Linked DNA regions of Homo sapiens: region 2 is linked to region 1. The links are contacts of gene promoters, found by promoter capture Hi-C in blood cells and fetal thymus (Javierre and others, 2016). All regions are on one chromosome and are shown on one strand. The core of a region is centred on a gene start or on the middle of the fragment in contact, and the rest is flanking DNA. Distances in the headings are between cores, read along the strand shown. Region 1 holds the start of B3GALT2 (beta-1,3-galactosyltransferase 2). Region 2 overlaps CFH (complement factor H).

Region 1 (5,006 bases), core at 1,137-3,636:
CTGGGCAATAGAGCAAAACTCTGTCTCCAAAAAAAAAAAAAAACAGACAGACAGAAAGAAAGAGGTTGCAGCTGTACTTTTAAAGTATGAAGTAAATTCCAGTTAAGTACATAGGCACCTTTTGTTAGTAATATTTGGAAGTTTCTTGCTGTTTAAATACTTGTCCCATAACAAGCAGTTCGGGGCGGGGGGGTCCCACTGGAAATTCAGGGACTCAATCCGATACTGGAGGGACCCACTAATGAATACGTTACCCATATAACTCTCTTAATAATCAAAATCTATAATAATCCAGGGAGACATTAAAAAAATCCAATCAAAAGAACTGGCAAAAGAATAATAATTATTTAGTCCTTTCCTGGAGAAAGGGGTAGGGAATGTCTCTAAATCAACTTTGTATCCCCTATACTTAATAAGCTATGCCTAAATGCACATGTTGGTACACAGTAGTTAATCAATATGTACCTGTTGAAAAAGTGAAAATATAAACATTCATTTATTATTCTATTAATGATTCCTGGGTATGCTGCGCCAGTGTTCAGAAAAAAAAAAAATCCCACAATTTCTCTAGCAGTGCCATGTAATAAAAAGTTTAAGAACAGAGAATAATGATAGTACTAGATAGATTTAAAAAGAAAACAAAAACACAGAGGATAAGAATTTAGATAATCTTGCTTCAATTCCCAGCTTGGCCTCTATTCTTATCAGTATTTATCTGACATTTGGACTATTTTACAACTCCAGGCACTGGTTCTGCATCTTTTAAGTGGGTATTACAATAATAAAATTATTAGAAAAGAGCCATTTGCATAACAGCTCAAGTAAGCTTAGCACGCAATCTGATTTTCAGTAAATACTCCATAAATGGTCATTGTGGCTAGCTTCATAGTCAAATCCTATGTAAAGAATCACTGATAAATAAATACTGATCTACAAAAACACATCTGTACTTCTGGAAAATAAGTTATTTTAAGTAAGTTCTTAAGCATTACTCTGTTAACTAGTAAACTAATTTTAAAAACAAAACGGTAGTGAGTGAGAATTGCAGTATGGGTGGATATAGACTACAAGGAAGTTGGGTTTTAGTCCTCTCCTTCAAACTTAACTAGGAAAAGTCAAAGCTCAGTCTAGGCTTTAGGTTTCCTATTTATAAAATTCTTTTTTTTCTTTAACGATCCTTCTAACATTTCTAATACAGTGGGGTTCTTAAAACTACAAAGCACATTTCATCAGCAAAGCTCAAAAATATGTGGACAAAATTTTTTTTAATATCAGAGAAAACAAATTCATATTCATTTGAAATAGCATATATTAATGGTGGAGGCAGTGAGATGAAGAATATGTATATAACTGTTAACCTTTAGCTTAAGCTCCAAAACTATAACTTTCTAGGACTGAATTACTGTCCCTAGAGTCACAGAGGAAAAACTGATAATAAAGGCTTTTTACTACAACAAAAAATTTAAAAAAACCTTCCCTACTGCTCTGCAGTAAGAAAAGAAGGTGCCAGCCCCAGAAACTAACCATATTAGAAAAATCTCAGTGAGTGTGTAGTGTTAATAAAATCTGCCTCATGGCAAGTTATTAAATCTTTCTGAAACATTAGAATAAGTAAACATAATTAGTAAAATCTCATTACCCCCAGATCCTGTACAAGTGTGCTATATCTATTACATCATTTTACTGAATTCTACGATACATGTAATTTTAAAGGGAAGGAAAAATAAATAAAAAATAAATGACAACATTAAAAAGTGATTTAAAATAAAGTTTTCTGCCATCAAGAACACCAAAAACCACATAAGAGCAAAAAAGAAGTGGGCTGTATCACATCATGCATTAGTAAAGTAATCCAAGACAGCTTATTTATACAAACCCCAGAAAACGGGGGGGGGGATCTAAATTACAAAGATACATGGTTTCAATAGAAACCATAGGTCTTAACTACATATTAGTAAAAAATCAAGAGCAATTTGAAAGCAGAGAAAAAAAACTTCAAGAAGAGAATGCACTGAAGGGGTTAAATTACACCAACTTACACACAAAAGCTTATACTGCTTACACCCTACAAAAGCATGTAAGAAACATGAAAACCAACATCTAACACAGAAAACACTTAGAAAGCCTGTACTTAAGAATAAAGTTAAAAAAGGAAGTAAGCTGGAAAAAATAAAATCATAACCATTTCATAATCATCACATTTTCAAATTATTCACTCATCACTACACTTGCATTCAACATATATAATTTATCACATAAAAGCAAAATCTCTAAGCTTCTCCCTACCTTAGGTTTTTAGTCAAAATGAATGCAAACAATCACGTGGGATTCAGCCAAGCAGTGACGTTAAATTCTGCTCTGTCAGAGAGAGCATCTGTCAAGCCCACATTTAAACTGCTGCCTGCCTGTGCAGCAGCTGAGGAACCGTGGATTTCATATTATAGACTAAAACCCCATTAAAACTGCTCAAAATCCTTCCTGCAGCTGCCAGGCAACAACGAAAGAAGAGAGGTAAATCCTATTCTTTTCCAATACAACTGAAGCACTACATTTTAGCTCTGGCTGCTTTACATTGCAGCTCAGTGTTATTAGTAGAAATATGGATACTGAGACGAGAACACAGCACTGCATTGTCCAGCCAGGAAAATAGCAGATGTAAAAAGCTTCAATGCATCAACTGTCGGGAAGAGTCAACAGTGCTACAAGCAGAACGGGCAACTACAGCTCTTTTGTTTAACGAAAGAGAGAAAATGAAAGAAAGGGAAAATTTCAGAAGACTAGGACCCATATGAACAAGGAGGGTAACTCGAAGACAAGCAGACAGATGGACACTTTGGATACTGTGAAAAGCAATCGCAGGAGGCAGACTGTTGGGGGATGTGCGCATGTTCGATAGCATCTTTTTTGCTGAAGTGATGGCGTGCCAAAAGTATTTTCAGTGGGCATAATCCTCTTCACATAAATGGCCTGACCAAGGAAGGTATGTCAATATCTTGTGTATGATAGTCATTTAAATGTGTTACCTTTTTATAGCCCTGGAGGCACTAATACCTGATAAGCAAGTTCATACAGCTCACTGCCCTTGAAACTATGAAAAGGTTTCTTAATATCTGATTTTAAAATTTGTCATTGTTTAGAAGACAAGCTGTCACTGCTTTATGCAGCTAAATATGTAGCTTGGAGTAATTCTGGGTAATAGACATCAGAGGGAAAAGGCAAATAAGAAGAAGATGTGTTTAAAGGATTCCTTAAGAAATTAAACTTAAAAAAAAATCTGTAGCCCTTTACAAAAAACACAGCAATATTCTATCAAATTAGGTCAAACTGAATCCTTATCTAGTAAATTAAATGCTCTCTTAAAAATGGCTATCAAAAGACACAATGCAGTGAAATTTCATTAAATAGTAGCAAGGAAAACCTTAAGAGTTTTTTTTTCAAAGTCCTTTTAAAACAAAACCTTAATATGTAACAGCTTTTAGTAACAAAATCTTCCCCAACATCTCCCTAAATGAAGATAATGAACACAACCAAAGAGAGTATCAACAAATTTTAAATATTACCAAGCTACAAGAAGATACTAAAAGGAAAGCATTAACATAAGATCACATAAGGTAGTGTGAGTTTATGCATAACCCCACAATAGAGCCTCGTGTTATTATAGTGACCATGAATAGAACTTTAAACAAAGGGACATCAATAGTGGCTTTAAAAATTAACTATTTTAAATAGCTTACATTTTATGTAAAAGACTGATTCCAAATGATCAAATTTAACGTTGTCTCTGATTATCATTTCAGAAGTGAAATTCAAAAACATAATATGGAAATACTTTGATACAAAAATATCCACAAATGGCAATACAAGGTCAAAAAATTAAATATAAATGTAGCTACTATGCTTCCAGGCTATATTAATATGCAGTAATGAACTACCGCCACTATATGTGTGTGCAGGGCACAGATAAACCAAATAAACTATTTTAGCAACAATCATAGAACAGCAACTCAGGGCTCAAGAACTTAAAGATATTTCTAAAATTCTACAAATCTATCAAAGATCCTGATTTTTCCTCAATTTCACAACACAACTCAGTAATTATCTAATAATCACAAAAGGCAAACATTTTTTAAAAATATGTAAGTACTGCATTCCAAAATGAAGATTAAACAAGTTTACCAGACTCTATTACACCTCAACATCACTCTCACCCATGAATTTTTATTCTAATAAAGACTAATAATAAATAGTACTAAAAAATATGGTTGTAAAAATTTCAAGTCCCTCTTGGTACCTTAATCTCTCAATATTGAAGTCACCAATTAAGCAGTTTTATAAGCTATACATCTCAAAACAAAAGTGTAAGTTTTTCTATTAAACCATCACCAACAGACTAAAGAGATCAACACTTTTAAAAGCCAAATGATAAAAACTGAGTGTGTACTGAACAGCATTTTACAGTAACATTCTCCCCATGAACTTCATCCACAAGCTATAAATACACATTAATAATGTGAAGATATCAAAAAAGAAGAGATAAACCAAAGCTATTTCTCTTCTAAAAATGTAAAAGTGCAGAACTATTTTGCATACTACTGAACTTTCTTGTTTTGCTCTCTCTTTTTAAGAATTAAAATACAACAGGCAATAACTGGAGAATAATTTTATCATTTAATAAAAAGCAGGCATGGTTATTTTAATTTTATATTCTTTTTAACAAAAAAATTTATAAGACCTGAGAATCTTTTAATAAGGAATTTTTTAAAGGCTAGACACATGCACTTCATTTATCAATGGGAGATTTATAGTTATATATGGATTTAATATCTCAACAGCTTAACATCTAAAACATACAAATACCATGAAGTCTAAATTAAGATGCATCTCTATCACATACTGTTACAAAATCATATTAGGACCAAAACTATGTATTTATGCTACATTACAATATGCAATAATTTGCTGTTTTCTGTAATACTAAAATACTTTAGAGACATCTTCAGGTATAT
Region 2 (5,006 bases), core at 772-3,271, 3.5 Mb before region 1:
CCTTTCCACAGCAATGACCCAACAACCGGAAGTTACCATCCTCCTCCTGGCAATTTCAGCATTAACTACCTCTTAATTTCCATATAATTAAAAGTGCATATAAATATGAGTGCAGAACTGCCTCTGAGCTGCTACTGTGGGCACACTGCCTATGGGTAGCCCTGCTTAGCAAGGAGAGGTGCCTCTGAGGCTGCTATACACTGCCACTTCAACAAAAATTGCTGTTTAACACCACAGGCTCACCCTTGAATTCTTTACTGGACAAAACCAAGAACCTTCCCAGGCTAAGACCCAATTTGGGGGCTTGCTGTCCTACATCATTATCAACTCATGCCATAGCAAAAGTATTTAAGGTAATGATTCACTGCACTGAGTTCTAATAATAATTAGGTATATCTTGTGACATAACTTTTATTTGCCTGAATTGACTAACAATCGAATGTTCAAGCTCAGTTGAACCACCTTCAAGTAGACAACAAACGGTTATTTTGGCCCAAGTAGTCAAACTCTCAGCATGTATGTACAACGGGCTTATTAAATAGGATGCATACAAATTGAAAGGCACAGAAACATTTTTTTGAGATGTGATTTATCTTAAAACTAAAAGAAATAGCCATCTCATTTTTCTCATTCTAGATTAATGAGTAGACTAAGCCATCATATCTAAGTATTTGAGTTTAAACAATGAATACTTCATCTTACGTTTACAAGTCATTTAATTGCCAGTTAATTTTGTTTACAAAACACTACATTGGTGAAGCTTTAATTCATTTGGCTTTATTTTACAATTTAAAATTAGTTTTAGTCTGGATGCAGTGGGTCATGCTTATAATCCCAGCACTTTGACATGCCAAGTCAAGAGGATCAATAGACCCCAGGAGTTCAAGACCAGCCTGGGCAACGTGGTGAAACCCTGTCTCTACAAAAAATTTTAAAAATTACCTGAGCAGGCCGGGCGCGGTGGCTCATGCCTGTAATCCCAGCACTTTGGGAGGCCAAGGCCGGCAGATCACCAGATCACGAGGTCAGGAGATCCAGACCATCCTGACTAACACTAACACGGTGAAACTCCGTCTCTACTACAAATACAAAAAAATAGCCGGGCTTGGTGGTGGGTGCCTGTAGTCCCAGCTACTCGGGAGGCTGAGGCAGGAGAATGGCGTGAACCCGGGAGGCGGAGCTTGCAGTGAGCCGAGATAGCGACACTGCACTCCAGCCTGGGCGACAGAGCAAGACTCCATCTCAAAAAAAAAAAAAAAAAAAAAATTACCTGAGCAAGGTGGCTGTAATCCCTGCTACTTGGGATGCTTAGGTGGGAGGACTGCTTGAGCCCAGGAGGTCGAGGCTGCAGTGAGCCATGATTGCACCAGTACGCTGCAGCCTGGGTGACAAAGTGATTCCCTGTCTCAAAAAAGTAAGAATAATACTAAACAAAATCAAGTTTTTTTTTAGCCCATGAATTAAGAGTGTGAATACGTTTAACTACTGGTAAAGAGTAGGAATGTTTTTACTATAATTTGAGGAAAATAGTTATATAATTTTGGTCAAAGCTAAAAATCAATATTACTTAATATTTTAATAATCTTAATTTACCTAATTTTTTCACTTTCAAATTTTAAGGGGGCATTATTGACATACAAACACCAAGCTAATTACTTATTATTGACATACAAACATAGAACTAATTACTTATTTTCAATGTCAATATATCTTTTAACTGTTAGTTGAAAAGTGTTTTTATTCAAATGAAATAAATCATGATAAAATTATATATTTGGGAAATCCTTAATCAAATTTGTGCTAGATTGTTTTGGTAGACTAAAGTTGGTCTCTTTGTTCAATTATTCTATTTTTCTAAAATTATTTTGTGCATAAAAAACAGTAGATATTATTTTTTAAATAGCCTACTTCTAAACTTAGTAGGTATCAGAATATATTATAAAGCAAAGTTACAAAATCAATTTGGAAAAAAATAAAGCAAATGAACAAAACAGAAATAGCAAAAATAGGTATTTTGCATTAAATTTCTTTCTTATCTTCTCACTGATCTATAGTAATACTATTTATTCAATAATCCTTTGGCTTTGGTATACACAGGGGATATATATTCCAGGACTCCCACACAGGCCAAAATCTGCACATACTTAAATTCTACATTTGGCTCTCTGGAAACCGCATGTACGAAAAGTCAGTTTTTCCTATGCTTAAGTTTTGCAACCCACCAATACTGTATTTTTGACCCAGGTTTAGTTGAAACAAATTCACATAGTAAGCAGACCCCTGAAGTTCAAGCACATATTGGTCAAGGGTCAATTCTATATGCATATATACGATATGATCTAATTAGCTTTTCAAAATAAGAAATATTCAAATTATTTTATAAATAACATGAGAATAAAGATCATTTCAGAAGTAACATATATACCTTTGTAAACAGAGTAAAGAATTGTTTAAAGAAACAAACTCTAGAGACAAAGCAGAATAGAGATTATGTCACACTTAATAGGCATTTGAGAAAGAAAAAGAAAAAAGAAAAGAAAAAAATTTAGCTAGGTGTGGGAGGCTGAGGCAGGAGGATTGCTTGAGCCCAGGTGTTGGAAGCTGCAGTGAACTATGATCGCACCACTGCACTCCAGCGTGGGCACTCCAGCCTCAGGCAACAAAGCGAGATCCTGTCTCAAAACAAACAAACAAACAAACAAACAACTTAACAGTGAAAAGAGCAAGAAGAAAATTCCAGAACCATAAAAAGCAGATAGGAGAATAGACGATAGTCACATGAAGTTGGATAGAATAACAAGTATGTCATAATTAGAGATAAAACAAGATACTATCAGAACATGGGTTGAAATTCCACAACTTTCTTGAAATGTGTATTTGAATAGCTAATTTCTAATGCCAGTTATTGTTCCAGTCACAAAAAACGAACTCAGCCACAAAGAGACAGTACAATTAGGACCCTGAAAATAGAGAAAAAAAAAAAAAAACGCAACACACATTGTACCAAGTATTACTAAGTAGTACTTGTGGAAGTTAAAGTGATGGAAAAATGAATGAGCGAAAGAACAGATGAGTAACAATGAAACTATCTGGAAGCCTTTCCATTATATCTGTAGATTATGGACAGCCTGTGGAAAAAGCGTAGTAGACAGTAGTGACTAGAAAATATAAGAGAAGACAAGGTGATAACTGTTTAGTGCACTTAAAACTCTGTTGCAAGAACCCAGGAAACTCTAACATTTGTAATTCCATTGTACATCTGACCTATGTGTCCTAAGCTTAAATTTATGTTACAGTTCAGGAGTTTCTGAAAGAATATTGCTTTTTCCTTTTCTTTCTTTCTTTCTTTCTTTTTTTTTTTTTTCTTTTTGAGATGGAATCTCCCTCTGTCGCCCAAGCTGAAGGGCAATGGCATGATCTCAGCTCACTGCAACCTCCGCCTCCCTGATTCAAGCAATTCTCCTGCCTCAGCCTCCTGAGTAGCTGAGATTACAGGCACGCGCCACCACGCCTGGCTAATTTTTGTATTTTTAGTAGAGATGGGGTTTCACCATTTTGGTCAGGCTGGTCTCGAACTCCTGACATGGTGATCCACCCACCTGGGCCTCCCAAAGTGTTGGGATTACAGGTGTGAGCCACCATGCCCGGCCTGGAAGAATAATCACTTTTCTATCTATTACATTTCCAGTTAACAAGGTTTATGAAAAACTTGGCTAAGTTAAAATGTCAGAAGAAATAAAAGTGTTCTGTCAAATGTTTTTTCTTTCCTTTTTATTGTTTCATTTTTTGATGTTCAGTTACTTTATTTCCTCTGAGCTATCTTTTTATGACTCCTTATAATTTTAAGCTAAAATGCAATACTTTTTTGTCAATTACATCATCCCCTTTCCATGTACTATGGTTTTGTGAAGAAATGGGTAAAGTACACGTTAGTTAACTGAGCACGGGATAGATTGGGTGGCAGAATCTCAAAGGCCTAGGCAGGTGGGGGATGGTGTGTGTGGGGAGGAGGAGAAGGCATAACTGGGAAGAATGAAAAGTGGCAAAAGACTGCAGAATAAACAATCGAGGATTAAGCAAATAAAAGTGGGTCAATGTAGACTGGCTCAGATCTTAGAAACCAAAGGCCACACATGAAGAACATTTACCAATCTGCTTTTGAACTTATATTTGGGAACTTACTTCTACCTAAGAATAATTTTAGTTAGCAATACTTAGATATTTCATTTTTAGTTTAAATTATATGTAGGCAAAAGAGTAGCATATGCATTCCCAGGATATGCCTAAATTTAAAATAAGCAAAGCTTGCCTTGGCAGACGTCTCAGGCTCGTGCCATTTCTGTGGGCATTTTCTCTACCCCTTCTCTTATAGCACTCACTATAGCACTTCAACCAGCAGATCTGTCCTACCTGGGAAAACCCCATCTTCCAGAATCACTTTGTTCTATTCTTATCCTCATCAACATCCATTTCTACCCTCCCCCGCCCACTGAAATTGTTTCAGGGAAGTTGTCAGATGATAATAATTCAAAGTAAATTATGAATAATACTAAATTTAACTATCCTAAAATATGTATTCAGTGTATTTGTCATTCCATGTAAATGACAGATTGGTTGAAATTATAGTAATATTAATATCAACACGTAAAGTATTTTAGGAGGAGATGAGATATTGAAGCCAATTGGGCCATCGCACAATTTAAATCACACCATATAGATAAATACACATACTACTATCTCTGAAAATATGGGGGTTTGGGGGAGCAAAGGGGAATTCTTATTTATCACACTGAAATTCAAACATACAATTTAGGATTTTAGACCACTATTCTCCTTTCTCTGACTGTAATGGAATCCATCAATCTCTGATCTATAAAGTCTTCTGGGACCTGAAATAACGTTTCTGCACTCTAAATCTCCAGGATTAAAAAACATGTCTCCCAAACAACACAGCCAGTATTTACTTGAACATGTTTCAGTAGAGTTTTAATTTATTCACTTTAATC

What was found. The method cuts DNA at HindIII sites, captures the fragments that hold promoters and counts their contacts. A CHiCAGO score of 5 or more calls a contact.
Region 2: a fragment that was not itself captured here is called in contact with the fragment with the promoter of B3GALT2 in region 1 in 2 of 17 cell types (M2 macrophages and M1 macrophages); the score reaches 10.4 in M2 macrophages.

Annotation. Positions count from the first base shown.
Region 1 is chr1:193,183,993-193,188,998 of GRCh38, reverse strand. B3GALT2 (beta-1,3-galactosyltransferase 2) reads left to right here and starts at 2,386. Exons shown (of 2, transcript NM_003783.3): 1 at 2,386-2,980. All of the region lies in intron 10 of CDC73 (cell division cycle 73), which reads right to left. The HindIII fragment of the contact is 388 bases long and covers 2,278-2,665 here.
Region 2 is chr1:196,654,668-196,659,673 of GRCh38, reverse strand. The region is part of intron 1 of CFH (complement factor H); the gene reads right to left. Among named protein-coding and RNA genes, the nearest start is that of CFH, 5.1 kb to the right of the region's middle. The HindIII fragment of the contact is 2,518 bases long and covers 763-3,280 here.